Regions from separate parts of the Homo sapiens genome. Here regions 1 and 3 are each linked to region 2. Evidence: promoter capture Hi-C in 16 types of primary human blood cells and fetal thymus (Javierre and others, 2016). All regions are on one chromosome and are shown on one strand. Each heading gives the region's core, a stretch centred on a gene start or on the middle of the fragment in contact. The rest is flanking DNA. Distances are from core to core; before and after follow the strand shown.

What was found. Contacts are between HindIII fragments. The CHiCAGO score rates a contact against its expected background, and 5 or more counts as called.
Region 1: a fragment that was not itself captured here is called in contact with the fragment with the promoter of BLOC1S5 in region 2 in 8 of 17 cell types (non-activated CD4 T cells, total CD8 T cells, naive CD8 T cells and 5 more); the score reaches 15.1 in non-activated CD4 T cells.
Region 3: a contact is called between a fragment that was not itself captured here and the fragment with the promoter of BLOC1S5 in region 2, in 4 of 17 cell types (naive CD8 T cells, total CD8 T cells, total CD4 T cells and 1 more). The highest score is 6.5, in naive CD8 T cells.

The regions. Positions count from the first base shown.
Region 1 is chr6:7,311,095-7,314,548 of GRCh38, forward strand. It overlaps SSR1 (signal sequence receptor subunit 1), which reads right to left and starts at 2,105. Exons shown (of 8, transcript NM_003144.5): 1 at 1,948-2,105. The coding sequence starts at 2,026. RefSeq lists enhancers at 1,269-2,137, 2,138-3,004, 2,341-2,410, 2,421-2,480 and silencers at 1,561-1,610, 1,741-1,850. The HindIII fragment of the contact is 2,424 bases long and covers 815-3,238 here.
Region 2 is chr6:8,062,631-8,066,340 of GRCh38, forward strand. It overlaps BLOC1S5 (biogenesis of lysosomal organelles complex 1 subunit 5), which reads right to left and starts at 1,759. Exons shown (of 5, transcript NM_201280.3): 1 at 1,635-1,759. The coding sequence starts at 1,746. BLOC1S5-TXNDC5 (BLOC1S5-TXNDC5 readthrough (NMD candidate)) reads right to left here and starts at 1,784. Exons shown (of 13, transcript NR_037616.1): 1 at 1,635-1,784. The region is part of intron 3 of EEF1E1-BLOC1S5 (EEF1E1-BLOC1S5 readthrough (NMD candidate)); the gene reads right to left. RefSeq lists enhancers at 967-1,593, 1,203-1,392, 3,083-3,182, 3,193-3,342. The HindIII fragment of the contact is 8,031 bases long and covers 1-2,876 here.
Region 3 is chr6:7,292,439-7,295,687 of GRCh38, forward strand. SSR1 (signal sequence receptor subunit 1) reads right to left here. Exons shown (of 8, transcript NM_003144.5): 7 at 2,954-3,047. Among named protein-coding and RNA genes, the nearest start is that of SSR1, 19 kb to the right of the region's middle. The HindIII fragment of the contact is 8,134 bases long and covers 1-3,249 here.

The DNA of each region.
Region 1 (3,454 bases), core at 777-3,276, 750 kb before region 2:
ACTGTATTGGTAGCTTCAGGTTTGATAGCAAAGAAAGAATCCAATTATTTTTGCATGTGGCTTCAAACATGTTTTAAGATATTTTTTCTCAAACTTAGTGTTACAAAGTACAGGTATAATGCAAAAAAAAGGTGAATCACAGTTTTATAGACAATAGTACTCTAAGTAAGTCACATTATATCTATTTCAGGCAAGACCATAAAAAGAATTTCAAAGTTCTAGTGTCTTCCAACATCTCTCAGAAAAAATGATGATGTGGCAATTCTGTGGATAAAAAACATGGGAAGGGAAGCGTGTTTTCACCCAGGAGAAACAGTTAAGGACCATGCATTTGCAGTCTTTTCCATGTCTTTAAGTTCTCACTGGCTGCTAAGATTTATTGCAAAATATTAAAGAACACTGAACCATGCATTATGAACTAAAGAGATTTCACTGCCTGCTGAACAAAGCCTAAAATAGTGCATTCATAACTTACAAGTCCTTTTCAAAAACCAGTAAGAAAAATACCATGTCTGATATAGTAATTTAAAGTCGTGGTTAAATTTGAGCACTTTGGAATATAAAGGCCTTTCATAAATATTAAACAATTTTATTATTTTAATGTTAACCAATAACAATTTTGTCCCCATGAAGTCTAACAGTCTTCATTCAACTGGAAAAACCAAACACAAAAACCGTTTCTCACAAAAAATGTTTACAAGATATTAATTCAGTTTAGATAATGAATTCATGCTTCTTGAAAGTTTTTATAACTTGAAAATAGTTATAAATAGTTCTAAAACTAAAACTACATTTGTCAAGTTTTCTTTTAAAAAGCTTAAAGAGTACCAGCAAACGACTCCTAAAGTAAAAAATCTTGTTAAACCTGCAGATTAACTCATTAACAGTTGTTTAATTCTCCCACTTGGTTTTCTAGCCATTAAACAGAAGCCAGTCACTTCACTTTTCATCGCAAAACAACTCGTGAATACCTGTCACTACCGTTAAGACACACAGCTTGCTTAAACTTACAGAATGAAAGGGATGCTTAGTCAGACTAATTATTTCACTTTACAAATTAGAAAGTCGAAGTTCACGACAAAACCTGTGCAGGAAGTCAAGTTGCCATATTTTTATATTCTGCTAAGTTATTTTCACACTTAATTGCTGGGTTAATTGTTGAAAGAATAAATCTATGTATTAAAAACACTCGAAGTAGGCCACATTTTTTCAGCACAATACGATGTTTCCACAAACAAAAAATTGTTCCATGGAAAGACAAGAAGAGGAAGAAGGCAGAAGGGAGACATCCCACAGGGATTCTTCAGTCTGCTTGGCAGCAGGGGCGGATAACGGGGGTGACGATGGGGTAGTTTTTCTGAAATCAAGCCTCCTAGTAACACATACGGGTCAAGCAGGGCGTGAACAAGGCAGATGACCATTGAACAAGACACTCTGATGGCTTAGATGTGTAGAAAACAAGGGTTTTGGCAAATGAATGAAGACGGACTCCCGGCGTGGAAGCTAAAGACACGTCAGCCCTGAGCGCGAGGGGCTGGGGGTGGAGCGGAGCCGGAGGTGGCCAAAAGAAACAGCCCGGCTGCGGCGCGCTCGGAGCGCAGCCGTGTCCAGCGCCTCCTCCTGCAGCCGAGGACCCTCCAGTTCTGGCCGCTCCTGCAGGCGAGGGTCCAGGGCAAGAGGAGCAAGCCCAGCCCTCGGCCGGCCACGAAGCAAGGTCGCCCGGGCACGGCCCCGCGCTCCGCGTGCAAGGGGCAGGCCGCAGCGGGGTCTCCAGCGCCCGCGGGGACCCCTGCTGCTACGAGCCTAGGCTTGGGGAGAGGGCGGAGAGAGGCCAGCGGGGTGGACGCGGACCCCAGGACCCGGAGCGGCCACCGCCTCCAACTTCAAACTTGCCATCACTGGCATCTCCTTCCTGGCCATCCCCTCCGCACACTCCCCCAGCCTCACCTCTGGGGCCGCCTCGGAACAAGACAGTGGCAGGGAACACGAGTAAGAGAAGCAGCAGCAAGCGGGGGAGGAGTCTCATGGCGCTGCCGGTCCAGTGTCCAGTTTCCGTCGGCTAAGGCTCTCGGCGGCTCCGGCGGTAATGGCGTTACTCTTCATCCGGGCTCCGGGCAGCGAGGGGCGGGACACGTACCGCGCACGGGCCTTTGCCACGCCCCTCCCTGGACCAGGGACCGCCGCCGACGTGGCTGCTCAGCGCGGAGAGGTGGGGAGAGCAGGCCACCGGGAAGTCACGTGGCCGGCTGCTGCCTCTTTGTGGCTCCCGCGAGAGTCCGCCTTCCGCCGCAGTTGCGACCCGGCAGCTTGCGGTTAGCCGTTCTTTCCGCCCAGTTCTTTACTTCCAATTAATTAGCATTGTCAGTGGTTACTTTATTTGAATGACGATCCTCTTGATAACGGCGATGTAAGGAACATGAGCTGCCTTTATGTGGCACTTAAAAGCAAAAAATTTTGTTGGAAGAGAGGACATTGTTCAAAGGAAAAACCATGAAAATACACAGTGGAAAATCTTTGTCCCCTGTCTGCCCACACCCTCTCCCATGGTTAAGTAATGACAATTCTTAAATTATTATTTTTGAGACGAAGTCTTGCTCTGTCGCCCAGGCCAGAGTTCAGTGGCACCATCTCTGTTCACCGCAACCTCCGCCTCCCGGGTTCAAGCGATTCTCCCGCCTCAGCCTCCTAAGCAGCTGGGACTACAGGCGCGCACCACTACGCCCGGCTAATTTTTGTATTTTTACTGGAGACGGGGGTTTCACCATGTTGGCCAGACTAATCTCAAACTCCTGACCTCAGGTGATCCACCCGCCTGGGTCTCTCAAAGTGCTGGGATTACAGGTGTGAGCCACTGCGCCTGGCCAGCAATTCTTAAATTCGTATGTGACATTCCAGAATTATAAGTCACCTAAACAGTGTTTTGGTATGTAGTCAGCATTTGTAACTATACAATAGGTGCAGCAATGGCTGTCCAGTTTTCTTTAGTTTCCTTTTCATCTATTTTGGATTTGAGTTGCTGGAGTAATATAGCAGTTCATGAAATTAATCTGAATATTAAGTAATCTTGGTCTGGACCAGAGTGAGATGTCATAAAGATGAGGAAATAAATCATATGCTTACTATTGTCAATCACCTCCTTAGAGCTGTGCTTTTTCATTTAATTTTCTAAACCTCTCTATGAGCTGGATATTATTTACTGAGGAGAAAACAGACCCAGAGAGGTTAGTAATTTACTCAAAGCTTCAAAACGCTAGCAAACGGCAGATGCAAGATTTGAACAAGGCTATCTGGTTCCAGATTCCATACACTACTGACCTAGGACATTTGCTGTTCTACTCCTGCATTGTTTCCGCTTCAGGTCTCCTTGTCCTGGGGGCTGTAAATGCAGCTTGGACCCACTGCCACCACTACCTACAGTCTGCTAAAGTCACAGCCTGATGGTGCTGGGCTGAAT
Region 2 (3,710 bases), core at 509-3,008:
TGAAATTCAGGGTTAATCCATGCTAAATGGCATAATCTCTAGCTTGTTTTACTCTCTCCCTTCCCCACTAAGAGATGAAGGTTAAAATCCAGTTTAGACTATGGACTAAGAAGAAATCTCATCCACTGCCAGTGGATGTGTACACTGATACAACTACTTTTGAGAACAATCTTTCAGTATTCAATAAAGTTGCAGACATGTATACCTAGCATTTTCATGCCTAGGTATGTACCCTGGAAAACTCTTGCACAAATGAGTAAGGCCATTTATACATATTTATTACAGCATAGGTGTAATATCAAAAGAAAAAACGCAAAACACCTTAACCATACTCATACAATGGAATTCTATCAATCACCAAGTAAAAATAAATACATCAGAGTTACACTTATCAACATAAATATAAAAAATAATACGTATTTTATAATAAATATAATAAAAAAGCAAGTTTCAGAAGGATTAAAGCAATTTACATAAAACTTTAAAATATTCAAAATATTTCCTTTTGGGATATAGACAGAAGCAACAAAACTATAAAGAAATGCACAAGAATAATAAACACCAAATTCTGGATAGTGGCTACCTTGAGACGAGGGAGGGGAACTAGTGCAATTAGAGCAAGACACAGTGGGGCTTTTAGTAATTTATTTATTAAGGTGGGTGGTGAATGTTCATTGTAAGTCTCTTTTTCATAAGTCTGAAAAAGTCATTAAGAAAAGGTCTGAATTTAAGTCTTTTGGTGAGTCAGTTTATTATTCTTCTTAGTTACAACTATGTAGTTTAAAATGTAAGTCTCAAAATTCCTTGAGAAATTAAATCTAAGACAATGTATTATTCATATTCATTCACTGGCAATGTTCCCCAAATTTTTCATTTTTGCAGACATACGATGGGCAGGTTTCAATTCTCTATTTTAATGAATTTTATTAGTACATATCTTCTTAAGCATGTCAAGTAGAAAAAATAATACAAGCACTGTATATAAGCACTTTATATCTGGTATATATAAAGCACTACAACTCAACTGTCAAAGACTTTCACGCAGCAAACAGCGTTGTGAGCTTTAGGAGTCAAACCTAAAGCAGATTCTGTGAGAATCTAGGTTGTAACCTTCTCCCAGCTCAAAGCACACAGAACACATGGACATTTCTGAACGTGAATGGTTCTTTACAGTGCTATAGAGCGCCTTCGTAAGTGTATCTCACTTACTCCTCGCACGACCAGGAACAGATCGGGTAGGAGAGTGAGTAAAGCCAGTGACCCGAAGTCACTCAACTCCTAAGCGACTGCCTCCCGCCTCCCAGGTCCAATGCCCTTTCCACTACACGTCGGTGGCGAGGCTGCCCAAAGGCTCTGCGCCCAGGGGTCCTGAGCTTGCGGAATGGACGGGGGCGGGCCTGATGGCTCAGGCTGCGACAGAGGAAAGCGGGGAAACACGAAGAGTTGGGCTGGTTGGTTGTGGTGGGACGCATTTGGCGCGGGGAAAAAGGCGGGGACCGACCACGACTCCCCCACCCGCACAAACGCACGCGCGCCAGCCCGGGACCCGGGGGTCGGCCCGGGTCAGAGGGCGCCGCCTGGGAGATGAGGCTGTGCTGGGATCCACCAGGAACTATAGCCCTGACACTCCGTACCCTTGATAATGAGGTGCGCTGAGCCCGCAGTCCCCAGGGAGTCCCTCTTCTTGCTGCCACCGCCCGGGGCGGCCTCACAACCCACAGGGGTCTCTGTCCCTCCGCCACTCATCCCGACCAGTTCCGCCCACCCGCGGCCACGCTGCGCCTGCGCAAACCCGGCCGCCCTCTTACAAGGCGCGCCCGGGTTTTTTTTGTGTGTGTGTCATTACAGGGCGCCGGAGAAATTTAATCTACCCAGCGGGCGGTTCCGGAAAGGCGCCTGCCGTGTAGTCAGGCTGTGAACTGGCAGAAGCTCTTGCCGCCATGCTGGATCAGGGCGGATGCTGCTAGAATAGGAAGGTGCTTGAACTTTGGAGCTAAACTCAGAGCCCTGGTTATTTGGCTCAAAGCTGGTGCATTCCAGTACAGTTGTCCTCCCATATCTGCTGAGAATACATTCCAAGACCCCCAGTAGATTCCTGAAACTGCATATAGTACTGAACCATGTATATACTATGTTTTTTCCTGTATATACATATGATAAAGTTTATAAATTAGGCACAGTAAGAGATGAACAATTAGAACAATTTAATAAAAGTTATGTGAATGTAGTCTCTCTCCCAAAATATCTTATTGTACCGTCCTGCGGGTAATGAAACCACAGAAAGTGAAACCTCAGATAAGGGGGGACTACTGTATAGCAAAGCCAATTAGCTGGGGGCTGTTTCCCTACTATGCCATGAGTGTGGCTGACTATTCCTGCCTTTCTTTTTAGACACCTGTTTCCTAGAATGCTTCTCTTGCTCCCTCTTTCTGTTCAAGTCAGTAAACTCACGTTGTATAATAAAGAATTTGACTGGACTTTGACTCTGGTTCCTGGGAGGTACCCTCAATCCTTAGAATTTCCCAAGTGATAGAAGTGTCTTTGTTATTCATGGTGGGCCTCTGGAAATACACCTGAGTTTATGCTAATGAGATGGCTCATGGAGGGCCCAAGATGATTTCAGAATGGAGGCTGGCCACACCAGAAGGGCCGGCCAACCATGAGGGCTTAGGCTTTGAGTCACATAAGCAGGCCCACCTCTGGGGAGCAGATTGGGGCTGGAGACTGAGTTCAGCCATGTGGCCAGTGATTTAACCAACTATGCCTACATAATGGAACCCCAGTGAGTACTCTGGATGTGGAAGCTCAGGTGAGCTTACTGGTCGATAATCATTCATCAAAGTGTCAGGAGGGGGAAGCGTTCCTGAGGACACGTAAGCTTCTATTTGGGAAATCTCCCACATCTCGCCCTATACATCTCTTCATTTGGCTGGTCCTGATATGTGTCCTTTATAATAAAACTGTAATAGCAAGGAAAGCACTTTCTTGAGTTCTATGAGTCATTCTGTGAAACCTGAGGGAGTAAAGCGAATAGCAATGAAACATCATGTGTAGAGAGAAGCTGCGTGGGTGAGAACTGAGGCACCCTAGCAGACAGTGCTCAGGCCCTGGGCATATGACAGAGACAGCTGGTCAGAAGTGCAGGTGGCCTGGGAACCCCAAAGCTTGTGGCAGGTGTCTGAAGGGGAGTCTTGAGGAGGACCATGCTTTGACCTCTGAAGTCTGTGCTAACTTCGGATAGCACTGCAGTTTAACAAACACTTACATGGCACTTGCTACATGCCAGGTAATACTGTAAGTGGTCTACAAATTTGCATTCATTTAATCCTCATGGCCGGCCTTTGAAGTAGTTATTATTAATGTCCTCATTTACAGACGAGGAGGCTGAGGCACAGAGAGGTTAAATGACTGCCTGACTTGTATGTGGCAGAAACAACTGCCTCTGTGTCTCTGTGTATGTGTTTAAGCATAGGTGGTGGGTGAAGAGAGAGTGGGGAAGGGAGATTTGGAGAGAAGGGAGAGAGAAGCCATATTAACTTTAACAGGCCACATGGGCTTTTCATTTTTTCATTCAAAAACATTTAACAAATACGTTATTGAGCAGCTGCTACGTGCCCAGCATAGTGCTAGGAGCTAAGACACAGTGGTGAACAAGACTAATGCAGCCTTTTCCTTTCCTCATGCAGCCTGCAGGGGAGCCAACACTGAAT
Region 3 (3,249 bases), core at 334-2,833, 770 kb before region 2:
TCTGCTTAGGCCCCAGTGACTTCTGTGCTTTACTGAAATCGCGGAACTGGTAACCCTGCTTCCAGCAGCTCCTTTGCAGTCCTCCACAAAGTGATCCTAATTTTTCCTTTCTTTTCTTTTTTTTCTCTTAGAGATGGGAGACTTGCTATGTGGCCGAGGCTGGATTCGAACTTCTGGGCTCAAGCGATCCTCCTGCCTTAACATTTCCAGTAGCTGAGACTACATGTGCACACCACCATGCCCAGCTTACCATAATTTTTAAAACACAATTGTAATTCCTCTCCTTTAAAGTGGCTCTTTGACCTAGGAGTCAAAAGTTGTTAGCATAGCTCATAAAACCTTAAAGACTCCTTCTCACCCAACCTTTCAAGACTCGGGTCTAGTGCTGACCTCCTCCTGTGCTCTTGTTACTTTGAACCCACCTTTCATAAAGCAACTGCTATACTGCAATATGACAGCTAGCTCACAGAAAGAGACAGCTAGCTCACAGAAAGCAGTAGAGAAAACAATTTAAAAATGGAAAAGGACCTGAACAGCCAATTCACAGGAAAAGAAACCCTAGCCAATACAGTCATCTCTATTATCTGCAGGAAATTAGTTCCAGGACTACTCCCCCACGGCAACCCCACCCAAATCCAGGCATACTGAAGTTCCGCTGTCAGCACTGAGGAACCGGTGGATACAAAAAGCCTTCCCTGTACTTAGGTTTGGTATCCTGCAAAAACTGTGATTTCCTTTTTTTTTTTTTAATAGATTTTATTTTACTATTATTTCACTAGTTTTGAGGGACAGATGGTGTTTGGCTACATGGGTAAGTTCTTTAGTGGTGACTTCTGAGACTCTGGCGCATCCATCACCCAAGCTGTGTATACGATAACCCATGTGTAGTCTTTTATCCCTCACCCCCCTCCTACCCTTCCCCGAGTCCCAAAAGTCCATTATATCATTCTTATGCCTCTGCGTCCTCAGAGCTTAGCTCCTCAATGATTTCCTTTCCTCCCCACCCCCACCTTTTCTTTTGAGACAGAGTCTCACTGTCACCCAGGCTGGAGTGCAGTGGCACCATCATGGAGCAATCACGGACCTACCAGGCTCAAGCAATCCTCCCACCTCAGCCTAGGCGCACGTCAACACATGTATTTTTTTTTCATTCTTTGTAGAGATGGGGTCTCACTATGTTGCCAAGGCTAGTCTCAAACTCCTGGGCTCAGGCGATCCTCCTGCCTCAGCCTCCCAAAGTGCTGGGATTACAGGTGTGAACCACCACGCCTGGCCAAATATTGTATTTTTTATCTGCTTTTGGTTGCAGATGTGGAACCCACCAATATACCGAGGGTCAATTATATTGAAAAAATCTGTATATAAAGTGAAACCCAAGCAGTTCAAACCTGTGTCTTTCAAGGGTCAACTATGAATATGTATAAAGGAGCTGAACCTCATTCTTAAAGAAATGCAAATGAAACAGTAAGACACTCATTTTATATCATACCGACAGATTAAATAGGCAATATTGTGCATGGTTGAGAACATAAATTGGCACTACCTTTTTTTCCCCTTTTAGGAGGGAAATGGGGTCCCTTCCATAAAAATTCAGTGTATTTAATCTTAGACCTAGTTACTCTACCTTTAAGAAGTTATCCTATAAATTTATATATAAGAATATTCATTACAGTATCATCTGTAGGAGTGAAAAAATAAAAGTAACCAATATCCTTCCAATACAGAACAGGTTTAATCTATCATGACATACATATATATATAAAATAATATTGTCTAGTTGTAAAAAAACAGTTTAGTAAATATTTATGTAGTTACTACAAAGAGACATCCAAGGTATGAAAACTGAAGTTGTAGACAGCATGATGCAATCTGAACTAAATACTCACATAAAAACAATAGGCGTATATGCTTATAGATATATAGAAATTAATGGAAAATATAAACATAATACCATTTATGAAAAATAGGGCCGGGCGTGGTGGCTCACGCCTGTAATCCCAGGACTTTGGGAGGCCGAGGCTAGCGGATCACTTGAGGTCAGGAGGTCGAAGCCAGCCAGGCCAACATGGTGAAACCCTGTCTCTACTAAAAATACAAAAAAAATTAGCCGGGCGTGGTGGCACGTGCCTGTAATCCCAGCTACTTGGGAAGCTGAGGCAGGAGAATCACTCGAACCCAGGAGGCGGAGGTAGCAGTGAGCCAAGACCATGCCACTGCACTCCAGCCTGGGCGACAGAGCAAGATTCCATCTCAAATAAATAAATAAATAAATAAATAAATAGGATTAATGAAGTCAGGAATTGACTTATTTTTTTCACTTCTGTACTATTTAATTTTTTATAATGAGGCTGCATTGGTTTTATAATAAACATTTTTAAAATGTCCTACAATTGAAGAAACATTTCTATATTCTTTTATAAAGGTTAGTATTTTAACTGAATATGTAATAAAACTGAAATGTATCTGTAAAATAAATTGTCGGGTAATATTTTAGGTTTATTCTTTCAAGTTATACTGGGTAGTTTTTCTAATAAAATGTAGTAAGAAAAATTGTTCCATTACTCATTAAACTTGACGTAAAATATTTACGTGCTATTTGAGAGCCCCCAATTCTCTAGCAAAAACCATTAAAAAAATTAAATGCCTCACCTCTTCTACTCTGCACTGAAGCAACAGAAAGAAAAGAGACAGGAAATGGATTAGGAACACAGAAAATTCACACATTCATAAATAAGCTGCAGATCTGGAAGAATTTCCAAATTAAAGCATAAGAAGACTACACACTGAATAAACCTTTAAGGTCTTAATTAATCACTATACTAGATTCTACACAAGTAATGGAAAAGATGAATGTTAAATAGTACTGAAAAAGTTTTTTTTTTAAACTAAATCTAAGGTATTTAATTTCCACTTAAGAGAAAAACTTCCCAGCCAAGTCTGTAAGACTACTTACTGATTTGATTCAATGTTTCCTGAGGAATCCAACTCATGTCAACATCATTCTGACTTGATGTACCCATTTCTACTTTCTGTATGGGTCTCTTACGCTAAAAGAACATAAAGACATATTTTAAAGGAGTTCCGTTACACCATTTACTTAATATTTTTTAAAAAAGAGTTGAGGTCTTGCTATGTTGCCCAGGCTGCCTGGAACTCCTGGGCTCAAGCAATCCTCCTGCCTGAGCCTCCCAAGTAGCTGGGACTATAGGCACATACTATCATGACCAGCTGTTTACTCTAATTTTTAAA